Regions from separate parts of the Homo sapiens genome. Here all the other regions are linked to region 1. Evidence: promoter capture Hi-C in 16 types of primary human blood cells and fetal thymus (Javierre and others, 2016). All regions are on one chromosome and are shown on one strand. The core of a region is centred on a gene start or on the middle of the fragment in contact, and the rest is flanking DNA. Distances in the headings are between cores, read along the strand shown. Region 1 holds the start of TCP1 (t-complex 1). Region 2 overlaps IGF2R (insulin like growth factor 2 receptor). Region 3 overlaps IGF2R (insulin like growth factor 2 receptor). Region 4 overlaps IGF2R (insulin like growth factor 2 receptor).

Region 1 (2,905 bases), core at 149-2,648:
GTAATTTCAGCCTAAAGGTAAATGACATCCAACAGCCCCCGTATTTCCCAAATCTACAAATCTGTGTTAATTATTTAAAAACCACCTACTAAGAGTGTAAATGGGGCCAGACACTGTGGCTCACAGGTGTAATCCCAACACTGCGAGGCCGAGGCAGGAGGATCGCTTGATGCCAGGAGTTTGAGACCCCTTTGGGCAACATAGCGAAACCCATTTCTACAAAAAATAAAAACAAAGCCGGATGCGGCGGCGCGGACCTGTGCTTGGAGAATGCAGTGAGCTATGATGGCACTCTCGTCTGGGCGACAGGTGGGACCCTGTCCCTAAACAAAGCGAGCCTATTTGGCACAGCTTTGATGCGGGGTGGAATCTGATGGCGGGGAAAAAAAAAAAAAGTAATAACCACCAATTTCATGCTCTGCCACTTCGTACAGCTATACCAGCCTTTTCCTTCAGATTCTGCAAGTTTTTTGCTCATTAAAACTCTCTTTATCTGTGAGGAGAGAAATCGGTAGTCAACGGGGAAGGTGGTGACTTTCAGATTTGTTTACGAAAAAAATTAGGAATCTATCAAGAAACAGTAAGCTCTGTAGGTATCCAAAGGCCTGACAGCAAACGCTCTGCTAAGTTAGCGCTGCCGTCTCCTGGGGTCAATGCACTCGAGTGGCGTTTCCTGGGCTAACTCTACTGTAAGAAGCTGTCAACCCGGATACGGCTGGACGCCGGACGCCCGACCTCGACTGCAGCTGCGGGCGGACAGGGCACCGGGCTCATCCGAGGGCGCGCGGATGGACCTACTCTTTTTCTGGTAAATGGTCCTAAAATAAAACCTGGCGTTTAACATGGACACTCAGGGGGTCGCCCTGAAACAAAAGGGGGTGCGAGGCGTGGCCCGCACGTGCGAGCCCGGGAGGCCCGCTTTCCCGCGGAGGGCGCGTTTCCAACGCCGCCCCGGACACCACATCCACGCGTTGCCGGTCTCAAAACCCTGCCGCGCGCGGCGGGGCTCCTCCTCGCTGTGGGAAAAGTGGGGCCACAGCGCCCTGCCCCAGAGAACGGCGGGTGGGCTGGGTCCGGCTGCGGGGCCCCGAGGCCCTTTCTGCGGAGGTAAAGGAGAGAAACGAGGGCAGCCGGGGTCCGGTCGCGGTGGGACTCGGCCCTCCCCGGCCGCAAACCCGACCCAGGCCCGGCCCGCCCTTACCGTTTTGGGAGCGGATCGTTTCCCCAGTGCTGCGGTCACCGAACACGGACAAAGGCCCCTCCATCTTGACGGCAGCGATACACGTCGAATTCTGCTTACACCGCGGGCAACCAGTATCGCGGCCCCTCGGCCGACCGGCGACCACAGCAGTGGCTGCGACGGCGTGGAGCGTACCCGAGCGATGTCCCAGGAGCTACTGGGTAACACACCACCCCACCCGCTTCCCGGCTGCCCCGGCCCGGCCGCGGGGCACGGCGGGAAGGAAAAAGAGGCAGGGACAACAGGGAGAGAAACAGGACTGTGACGGAAGTGAGGCTCCGGGGAAGGGGCGGGGTCGGCATTTTTGTCCAATTAGATAGCCGATGGGAAGGGCGCGAAAGCGGAGAACGGAAGTCGGATGTTGGACCGCTGGGAAGAGGTTGAACCTTCGCCTCAAACGATGTTGCGCAGACGCAGTGGGCCATTCTAGTGCCTTCTAGAAAAGGTTGTAAGAAGGGTGGAGCTTGGAGCTGGGGTGTAACTGGAGGGGCGGGCCCTTCTCCAAGTTAGAGTTGGGGTTCTGAGCGAGTCGTGCGTTTTAGGTTTAGTGTCTTTTCCTTGTCCCTGCTCGGGGAGCGTGAGGCAGATCGGCCGGCTTTGCTCCAGGCCTCAGGAGTGTAAGTTTAAGGGCGCGAACCTGGGTGGGACGGGGCAGTTTTTCCAGCGGGCCATACGGGAAAATTTTTGGTTCGAGGAAGACAACCACCCTTTTTAAGGAGAAAACTGCATCTTGCCCTGCCTTATTCCTACGCGGTGCCCAGGTGGGGTGTGTGTGGACCAGTCGATGACCGCCCAAGCTCTCCGAGTAGAAAACCCAAACATGGTTTTGTGGGGTGTGTGCCTTTGACCCCGGACTTAAGCAACAAGCGTGGTCTTGGGCGTAGCTACGAGGTGGTTGGTGGGCTCCAGGGCCTGCGTGCCCCTCGACGTGAGCGATGATTGGCGATGAAGGATAACAGATCGCCTTCTCGGCCACTCAGTGGCAGGGGACTTGCTACTTCCGGGTCGGTGGCGTCTGGCGTGGAGAGTTTGGGGATCTACAGCAGCCAAAGGCTTGTCCCTGACTTTATATGGCTGCTCCTGGCGAGCGACTGAGTCGTCCGTGAGGAAAAAGAGGCGAGGCTTTTCCGAGATCGTCTCAGCGATGGCGCTTCGGTCGCGGTTTTGGGGGTTGTTCTCGGTTTGCAGGAACCCTGGTAATTAGTCTTGCCCCCCTTCTCCCAGCTCACTCGCCTGGGCTTGCACAGTACATTGGAACGTGCGGGTTCTATTTTGTATTCGACGTGCCGGATCGAAATAGAGCTCGCGGCACTGCGAAGACCACAGTAGGAAGTTAAGGACGGGGTCAGTGCTGACTCCACCCTGTGGGCATACGTATTTTTCGTCCCCTCGGGCCTAAAGATTGGGGGTGTAAAAGCGGATAGACGTTAGAGCGGGTTCGTGCGCTGTCCATATCCGTCATTTTTAAGCCCTGTGCGGTTTTTCCCGTTGCCCAGGGTGCAGGTTCGCAGCCCTGTCAACCAGCTCCGAGCCGGCAGCGAAACCTGAAGTGGACCCTGTGGAAAATGAAGCTGTCGCCCCAGAATTCACCAACCGGAACCCCCGGAACCTGGAGCTTTTATCTGTAGCCAGGAAAGAGCGGGGCTGGCGGACGGTGTTTCCCTC
Region 2 (2,905 bases), core at 219-2,718, 310 kb after region 1:
TGAAACCAAGAGCAAAAACTCAGATGGTGGATTTTGAGGGATGCAGGTACCACCCGGGGGTGACGTGGAATAGTGCCTGAGATTTTTTTTTCCCCAAATGTTATCAGTGTTGTACATTGTAGAATCATGTAAATATGGCCAGACGCGGTGGCTCACGCTTGTAATCCCAACATTTTGGGAGGCTAAGGTGGGCGGATCACTTGAGGTCAGGAGTTCTAGACCAGCCTGGGCAACATGGTGAAACCCCGTCTCTACTAAAAATACAAAAATTAGCCAGGTGTGGTGGTGCACACCTGTAATCGCAGCTACTCAGAAGGCTGAGGCAGGAGAATTGCTTGAACCTGGAAGGTGGAGGTTGCAGTGAGCCGAGATGGCGTCACTGTACTGCAGCCTGGGTGACAGAGCGAGACTAGATCTCAGGAAAAAAAATCATGTAACTATAACAAACAGGTAGCAATGTTCGCCCTAATAGATTACCATTTTTAGTTCTTTTAGCTATTTCTTCTGGAATTTACCTCAGTATTTTAAATTAACATCCTATATCTCATCTGTTGACTTCCTGCAATAGTAGATGAAGATAGAGCTGTCTTACACCTTCCTCCTACTTTACAAAAATGGTTCTTTCACAATATTTGATTAAAGTCAAAAAATTTACACAAAGCTAAAAGACAGGCATCTACAGATGGAAGGGGCAGGCTATGTGCCCAGCACAGTTATTGATGACAAGACCCACCCACTTATGAAATACCAGGAGAGCAGATACAAAGAAAAGACTGTAAAAGCTTTAGGGGAGGCTAATTTGTTGTATTAGAAAATAATTCAAGAAAGGTTAAAATACTTTAAATCCTCACTTTATATCATCGATAGGTTCTTGGAAACTGCAACTTTATGTGAAATGATGTATAATGAAACCAGTTTTTTTTCCTCAGCTTTATGTTATGTTATGTTATGTTATGTTATGTTATGTTATGTTATGTTATTTTTTTGAGACAGAGTCTCGCTCTCGCCCAGGCTGGAGTGCAGTGGCGCGATCTCGGCTCACTGCAAGCTCTGCCTCCCAGGTTCACGCCATTCTCCTGCCTCAGCCTCCCAAGTAACTGGGACTACAGGGGCCCGCTACCATGCCCGGCTAATTTTTTTGTATTTTTAGTAGAGACGGGGTTTCACCGTGTTAGCCAGGTTGATCTCGATCTCCTGATCTTGTGATCCGCCTGCCTCAGCCTCCCAAAGTGCTGGGATTACAGGCGTGAGCCACCGTGCCCGGCCTCATCAACTTTATAATGAGACAGTTTTGAAGGAAATGATGTCATTCGAGGACCTCCCATAGTCGCTTCACGGAAGGTTGCAGTTTGAAGGAAACTGTCAGCGACCCTATGAGGACACACTGTACTGGACAACAGTGGTGTCTAAGCTGAGAGGGGTGGCAGAGTTCCCAGCTTTTAAAATTTCTTACAGTGATAGCATCATATGAAAGTAAAACCATTTTCTTGAAAGAAATGAAGGAAGGAAGAAAAGGTAGAGTTCCTAATTGTTTGGAAGACATACTGTTAGACTTCCTGTCTTAGTATGCATGCCAGTATTTTAAGAATAACCACTAAAATAATATAAATATAGTATGTAACTTCCAAAACAGCGGAGAAGAAAAGGAGAAGTAAAAATACTTAAATCCCCAAAGAAGACAAGCAAGGAGAAAAATAAAACAAAAATCAGATAAGTAGAAATTTCAGCCCAGTATGGTAGAAATAAATCTAAATATATCTATAATCATAAGTATAGCTTGACTAAACTTGTCAGCTAAAAAACAAGTTGTCAAACTGGATTTCAAAAACAACTCTGTTTACAGGGAACATGCCTAAAACAAGGATACAGAAAAGACCAAAGTCAAAGGAGAAGAAAAGATATACCAGAAAATAATCTGAAAGAAAGCTGCAGTAGTTATGTTAATATAAGATAAAATAGGATATTAAAGAAAAATATTAGGGATAAAGAATAAAGAGGGTCATTATAATTTTAAAAGGGCTAATTTCCTAGGAAGATACAAGAATCCTAAACTTCCATCTACCTAATAAAAAAGCCTTGATATGTAAAGCAGAAATTGACAAAACCACACACAAGAAACAAGCCTAGTGATTGCTGGGTTGAGTAGACAAAGAGTAAAGCTTTTTTTGGAAGATTGAGACAGCACAGTGAAAAGCAAGATTTAATAGACATGCGCAGAACACTGTTCCCTGCGTTGGGAGAACACTGTTTGCCCAAGCTTACATCAAACACTTAGAAAACTTTAGCAAAAATTAACCACAAAGCAGGCAAGTCAGCAATTTCCCTTTTTTTTTTTTTTTTTTTTTTTTTTTTTTTTTTTTTTTTTTTTTTTTTTTTTTTTTTTTTTTTTTTTTTTTTTTTTTTTTTTGGAGACAGAGACTTGCTCTTTTGCCCAGGCTGGAGTGCAGTGGTGCGATCTTGGCTCACTGCAACCTCTGCTTCCCAGATTCAAGTGATTCTCATGCCTCAGCCTCCTGAGTAGCTGGGATTATGGGCGTGTGCCACTACCTCCTGGCTAATTTTTGTATTTTTAGTAGAGATGGGGTTTCACCATGTTGGCCAGGCTGGTCTCAAACTCCTGACCTCAGGTGATCCACCTGCCTCAGCCTCCTAGAGTGCTGGGATTACAGGCATGAGCCACTGTGCTCGGCCTAAGTCAGCAGATTTCTGACTGATGCAATTAACTACATACATGATGCAATTAAGTTAGGAACCAAGAACAAACAACTGAAAAATAGAAATACGTTTGAAGACTAAAACTCACTTCTGAATAATCTATGGTCCAAAGAAGAAATCAAAGGTAGAAAGTAAAATACGCTTAGAACTGAGTGATGATGTGTCTCTTGGATGCATTTCGAGTGGTCCT
Region 3 (2,905 bases), core at 242-2,741, 280 kb after region 1:
TCTGTCTTAATTTGGGAATATAACCTTCATCCTATATGGGGTTCAGAAAGAATTTCGACTGCTACAGCCTAGCTATTCCTCTACACTCACGCCCGCCTGCCCCAGTCCATCTGTGACAAAACAGCATGTAAGTGAGTGAGAACTAACGTGATGTCATTGTCATCTGACTTATGTGAAAGAAATAGCAGGTATTTTGAAGTGACTCTTAGAAAGCGTATGAAGTTCTGCAGCGTGTGTGACATTTATTGCCTGATGAAGTTCTGTTCTAGCCTGGGGAGTCACTAAAGGCAACTCTTTCTTGTGTCTGGTGCTGCAGAGCCGTGCCCTCCAGAAGCAGCCGCGTGTCTGCTGGGTGGCTCCAAGCCCGTGAACCTCGGCAGGGTAAGGGACGGACCTCAGTGGAGAGATGGCATAATTGTCCTGAAATACGTTGATGGCGACTTATGTCCAGATGGGATTCGGAAAAAGTCAACCACCATCCGATTCACCTGCAGCGAGAGCCAAGTGGTAAGGGACTGTTCCTGCACCTTCTGCTGTTGCAGCTTTGGGAATTGAGCCCATGTGCAGGGCGGTGAGCCGCACGTCCTCATCTGCCTTGGGATGCGAGTTCTAGAGCCTGGGATGATGCGCCCTTACCAGAGGTTGGGGGAACAGCGTCGCCGCGGCCTGCAATCTGGGGAACCCTCGTGCTGTCTGGCTCCTTAGAAGCTTGCCTGGCAGTTCCCGACTCAGAATTGGTTCTCTTCAGAGTTTGACTCAGACCCCTAAAGGCTGTGGAGGAGATTGTTGTTTGACTACATGCCCTTTTGTCTTCACGGCGGCAGCTTGGGAAGCACGAGAAGGTTGGCTGGGCCCGGGTCACAGGTAGCGCTGCCACTTCCCAGCCACATAACTTGGTTAATTACTCAGGTAGTCTGCCCTGCTCAGCCGTTCATAACATGAGGCATACTTGTCCTGCCCATTGCAGGGTTTCGAGAGAAGAGGTAGGAAGTGCCAGGTGTCATTTCTGACACACGGGAGATGCACAGTCAGTGAGCATGAGTGCCTGTGATCAGTTCTTCCCTTACTTGTTTGGCATGCACGTAAGCAGGTGTCGACTGCATACAGGTTTTTCTGTGTGTGAGATTGTGGTGAGCCCCAGTGCTAGCGTGCATGACAAGCTCGGTGGCTGAGTTGGGCATTAACTCGGGCAAGACCAGCTCGCTGGGTGTCAGGGTGGCTCGCCCCATGCTCTCCAGCGGTGGGCAGCAGTGGTAGGGGAGCTTGGGATGGGGGGCTCCAGGAGCTTCAGGCCTGCCCTCTTGCCTGGAGCGGCAGGGAAGTTTCCTCTTGGGAAGATTGTGCAGAGGCTTAGTCCAGACTCATGAGCTGCTGGGGCCTCTGAGCATTCTCCTCTGTGACCTGAGAGGCTCATGGCCGAGGACAAAAGGGCTGCCCCACATGTGGGGGGCAAAGGTGAGAGGGTGTGTGGGGCCCCTGTGCCCAGGGCCCAGAAGGCTGGGAGGGAAGGGTGAAGGGGTGTGTGGGGTTCCCCATGTCCAGAGCCCAGGAGGCTGGGAGGGAAGGATGAGGGTGGTGTGTGGGGGCCTCTGTGCCCCAGACCCAGGAGGCTGGGAGGGAAAGGTGAAGGGTGTGTGGAGGCCCTGTGCCCCAGACCCAGGAGGCTGGGAGGGAAGGGTGGGGGTGTGTCGAGGCCCCTGTGCCCAGGGCCCAGGAGGCTGGGAGGGAAGGGTGGGGGTGTGTCGAGGCCCCTGTGCCCAGGGCCTGGGAGGCTGGACTGCAGCGTGGCTTATCAGGGTGCCCAGCAGGAATCATGGGGTTTACCTGGGAAGGAAGGTGCTGCTGAACTCATCATGCTAACTCTGCAGTGGACATGAAGCGTTTTGAGATGAGCAGAGTAAGCCTTGGCTGGTGCCAGTGGGAGGATGCGTGGAATGGGCTAGTTCTCTTGGTATATCTTTTTGTTTTGACTGTGATAATGGATTTTACCTCATTTGGTTTTTAGAATTTTATCAATGATTTACACATTTGTGTCTCCCTGTAGCCCTTCCAGCATCCTTTGCACGCCTGTCCCCAACCCCTGTCCTGTTCCTCAGCCTGAGGGAGCTTCCTGGTCCCCTAAGTGTGTTGCTGCCTGTGGGTGTTTCACTTACCTGCAGGGGAAGCCCATGGTGGCAGCTCAGGACACATTCTGACCCTTTGCTTTTCCTAATCTGCGCCTCATCCCACAGGCACATGGAGACAGAAATGTCACATGCTGTGGAGTTTTTCAGAGAAGCTTCCACTTGTAAGTTGAAATCATGATAGACATGGAGTTTTTGCGTGATCCCTTCAGGACCTGTCTGTGCTTTGTTGTAGAACTCCAGGCCCATGTTCATCAGCGCCGTGGAGGACTGTGAGTACACCTTTGCCTGGCCCACAGCCACAGCCTGTCCCATGAAGAGCAACGAGCATGATGACTGCCAGGTCACCAACCCAAGCACAGGTGAGAGGTGGTGCCAGTCGTTAACCCCAGCGCAGGTGAGAGACGGTGCCCCCACCAAACCCAGCTCATCAGGGGAGAGACCCAAAGAGAAGCTATGGGCAGCAGGCGCCCTGGGCAGAGGTGTCATGGTGTGTGGGTGTGTTTGGCCTTTCTCTGGATGGGCTGCTGTGTGTTCTCCTGGCTCTCCTTCAGTGGAGGAGAGAATGCTCCCACAGAGAATCCATCCCTCCTGTCACTCTCCTGGTGTGAGAGGTGCTCCTGACTGGGGTTACTGACAGTGTCAGTCCAGCAGCTCTAGGCTCTCCAGGGCAGGTTAGAGCTAGCCCCTGGCTGCCTTTCAGCATCAGTGTAGTGGATTGCCAGGAGTCTCTCACCTGCCCTTGTGCTGGGCACCCAGAAAGGCACAGGCACAGTCCATTG
Region 4 (2,905 bases), core at 288-2,787, 260 kb after region 1:
GACCTCTGCTTTAATGTGACTTGGAACCACTTAAGGTTTTTTCCTTAACATTCTGTGTGAGGTTTTCAAGGTGACCCGCCTTAGAATTTTATTCATGCTGTTTGAACAAAATTCTGAACATCCGATGTTTGAGGCTTATTTGAGATACTGAAAATACTATCTTAAATTCATTATTGAGGTGGTTTTGCTGAATGCAAAACCTTCGGAACACAAGGGAATAAATTATGTTTGAAAAGGCTTTCGTGTGAATTCTAGGCAAGAAACCTCTCTGAGGGAGACCTTACAAGAAGGCCATAATATCATGCTCGTCCTACTTTGAACATGCTGTTGTTTATTAGCCCAGCAGTTATGGGCTTTGAATAGCGCTTTAGGCTAACCCAGTAGAAGGGAATGGTGGAGTTGGATCCATCTCCAAGGAAAATGTTAGTAATCGCGGTTCTGGTGGCCTCAAGGGGCAGCGTCTCTTCTGCCTCCTCCACTTCTTCCTGCCGTTGGGAACCTCCTGGGAAGAACCTCTCCCTTTCAAACTGTGGGGTGAGACCACTCTGTTAACTGTCGGACTGACCTTCCATACTTTTATTGTTTTTATTCTTTCTTAGGGTTTTCTTTTGACTTATCACCTCTCACAAAGAAAAATGGTGCCTATAAAGTTGAGACAAAGAAGTATGACTTTTATATAAATGTGTGTGGCCCGGTGTCTGTGAGCCCCTGTCAGCCAGACTCAGGAGCCTGCCAGGTGGCAAAAAGGCAAGTAGCTTCTCAGTTCTGTTTCATTCTTAGGCATTATATGCTAAGAAATATTATTTTCAGGAATAGGTGTGTTCTCACTTAATGTCATTGCTTTATGACAAGCATTTAAATACTGATGAGACCTGGTCTGAAAACTGAAGGATGTTAGGAGTTTAATTTCCCAGAGAAAGGAGCAGGCCCATCCTTGGGAAAGAAGGGTGGATTGAGGTTATGCCTCACTATTGCGCATTTTGTGCTTCTCAGTGCCTAGATATCTCTGTGCGTATTTCTGCATTCTGCGTAACTGCAGTTCAAATGAAGTGAGTTGTCTAAACCAGCGGTGCCAAGAGGAGATTTGGGTCCCAGTGTTCCTGCTGCCGTTGGAGACCTTGTGTGGGTTCCTGTGGTCTGCAGCCCGGGCCTGGTTCTGGTGACTCCTCACGTCGCTCACGGGCCCTCCCTTCAGTGTGGCAGCCTTGGAGTGCTTCTGCCCCTCAGGTCTTTGCTGAGAGAAACGTGTGTTTATTTCAGTGATGAGAAGACTTGGAACTTGGGTCTGAGTAATGCGAAGCTTTCATATTATGATGGGATGATCCAACTGAACTACAGAGGCGGCACACCCTATAACAATGAAAGACACACACCGAGAGCTACGCTCATCACCTTTCTCTGTGATCGAGACGCGGGAGTGGGCTTCCCTGAATATCAGGTAGGAATGTTTGTTCCTCATCGCGCTCCCTGAGGATACTCATGCCTGTGGTGGGCCTTTCATTTAAGCAGAGCTTGTATCAGTCTGGGTTTCCAGCCAAATCATCACCGTCATTAGATTTGCCAGGGTGCCTGGGCAGTATTAGTATTTTAAGCTGTTTATTTAGTGGGTTGTGCACCTTAATAACAGCCCACAAGCCTGTCAGTTTTGGGTACAAAACATACAAAAGCATAAAAAAAAATCCTGAATTAACCCCCACTTAGCAGAGGCTAAATTTTCATCCTGATTTGTTACTGGACAGTCTTCTTTTTAATAAAATGAAGGGAGATGGGCAGACTAAGCTTTTCTTCACAGTTTCTCATTGGGAACATTGCTCTCGTCCTTTTTTGAATCCTGGTTTTATGTCACGTGTCTTTCTCTTTTTGCCATCCCTCCGCGCATCTGCCGTGGATTAGGAAGAGGATAACTCCACCTACAACTTCCGGTGGTACACCAGCTATGCCTGCCCGGAGGAGCCCCTGGAATGCGTAGTGACCGACCCCTCCACGCTGGAGCAGTACGACCTCTCCAGGTGAGGCAGAGTCAGCTGCTCTGTTTTTGGCCTGGTACAGATGCTGAGGTTGCAAGTGTTGCTGGTGAGCGTGTGACTGAGCTGATGATGGGGAGTGATGCTGGCTGTGGGGCTGCAGGACCAAGGTGGGGCATTTTCAGCAGAGTGAATTCTAATAACTGTCTGGTCGCCTTTGGGATAGCAACCAGTCTTGGCCACAGCAGAGCCTCGGCCTTTAGCTTCATCATTTAAAACAATGACTGTCAGTGCAGAGGCACGGGGGACAGTTAAGGTCCACTGCATACTGAGTTCAGCGAAGGTGGAGTGTAATCCTGGTGCGTCATGCGCCCAGACAAGCCAACTCCTGGTAGTGTGATTGGTGGAGCATGTTTTATTTGGTAGCTTTACTTCCCCAACTACATAGAAATAAATGAGACTGAAATGTGTAAGCTCTTTAAAAGCATATACATTTTGCTTTGAAATTTTAGTCTGGCAAAATCTGAAGGTGGCCTTGGAGGAAACTGGTATGCCATGGACAACTCAGGGGAACATGTCACGTGGAGGAAATACTACATTAACGTGTGTCGGCCTCTGAATCCAGTGCCGGGCTGCAACCGATATGCATCGGCTTGCCAGATGAAGTATGAAAAAGATCAGGTGAATCTGTTTTCACTGCTTGTCTCCTTTGCCCTCCTAATTCCATGACTTAGTGGGAGGAGGTGGTTATTCTGGGACATCCAGATCAAAGGCAGCACAGCTGCTCGAGAGAAACCCTCTGAGTAGGAGTGGGGCCTCCATGTGAACTCATCTGCCTCCTGTAGGAGCAGAAGTGTGTCACACAGGAATCATTGTTCACATGGAGAATGCTGTGTTGCAGACTTTTGATCACACAAAGGGCAGAGGAAGCACCGAATGGT

Evidence for each region. Contacts are between HindIII fragments. The CHiCAGO score rates a contact against its expected background, and 5 or more counts as called.
Region 2: a contact is called between a fragment that was not itself captured here and the fragment with the promoter of TCP1 in region 1, in 8 of 17 cell types (neutrophils, monocytes, erythroblasts and 5 more). The highest score is 9.5, in neutrophils.
Region 3: a fragment that was not itself captured here is called in contact with the fragment with the promoter of TCP1 in region 1 in 6 of 17 cell types (neutrophils, total B cells, naive B cells and 3 more); the score reaches 12.4 in neutrophils.
Region 4: a contact is called between a fragment that was not itself captured here and the fragment with the promoter of TCP1 in region 1, in 4 of 17 cell types (fetal thymus, neutrophils, M2 macrophages and 1 more). The highest score is 6.8, in fetal thymus.

The regions. Positions count from the first base shown.
Region 1 is chr6:159,788,204-159,791,108 of GRCh38, forward strand. TCP1 (t-complex 1) reads right to left here and starts at 1,399. Exons shown (of 12, transcript NM_030752.3): 1 at 1,202-1,399. The coding sequence starts at 1,265. MRPL18 (mitochondrial ribosomal protein L18) reads left to right here and starts at 2,264. Exons shown (of 4, transcript NM_014161.5): 1 at 2,264-2,436; 2 at 2,737-2,905. The coding sequence starts at 2,385. RefSeq lists enhancers at 597-1,261, 1,262-1,925, 2,182-2,361, 2,392-2,451. The HindIII fragment of the contact is 4,019 bases long and covers 1-2,905 here.
Region 2 is chr6:160,098,401-160,101,305 of GRCh38, forward strand. The region is part of intron 45 of IGF2R (insulin like growth factor 2 receptor); the gene reads left to right. Among named protein-coding and RNA genes, the nearest start is that of SLC22A1, 22 kb to the right of the region's middle. The HindIII fragment of the contact is 1,377 bases long and covers 781-2,157 here.
Region 3 is chr6:160,069,552-160,072,456 of GRCh38, forward strand. IGF2R (insulin like growth factor 2 receptor) reads left to right here. Exons shown (of 48, transcript NM_000876.4): 31 at 317-507; 32 at 2,359-2,485. Among named protein-coding and RNA genes, the nearest start is that of SLC22A1, 51 kb to the right of the region's middle. The HindIII fragment of the contact is 1,570 bases long and covers 707-2,276 here.
Region 4 is chr6:160,045,899-160,048,803 of GRCh38, forward strand. IGF2R (insulin like growth factor 2 receptor) reads left to right here. Exons shown (of 48, transcript NM_000876.4): 15 at 600-747; 16 at 1,261-1,438; 17 at 1,894-2,009; 18 at 2,477-2,645. Among named protein-coding and RNA genes, the nearest start is that of AIRN, 40 kb to the left of the region's middle. The HindIII fragment of the contact is 479 bases long and covers 1,299-1,777 here.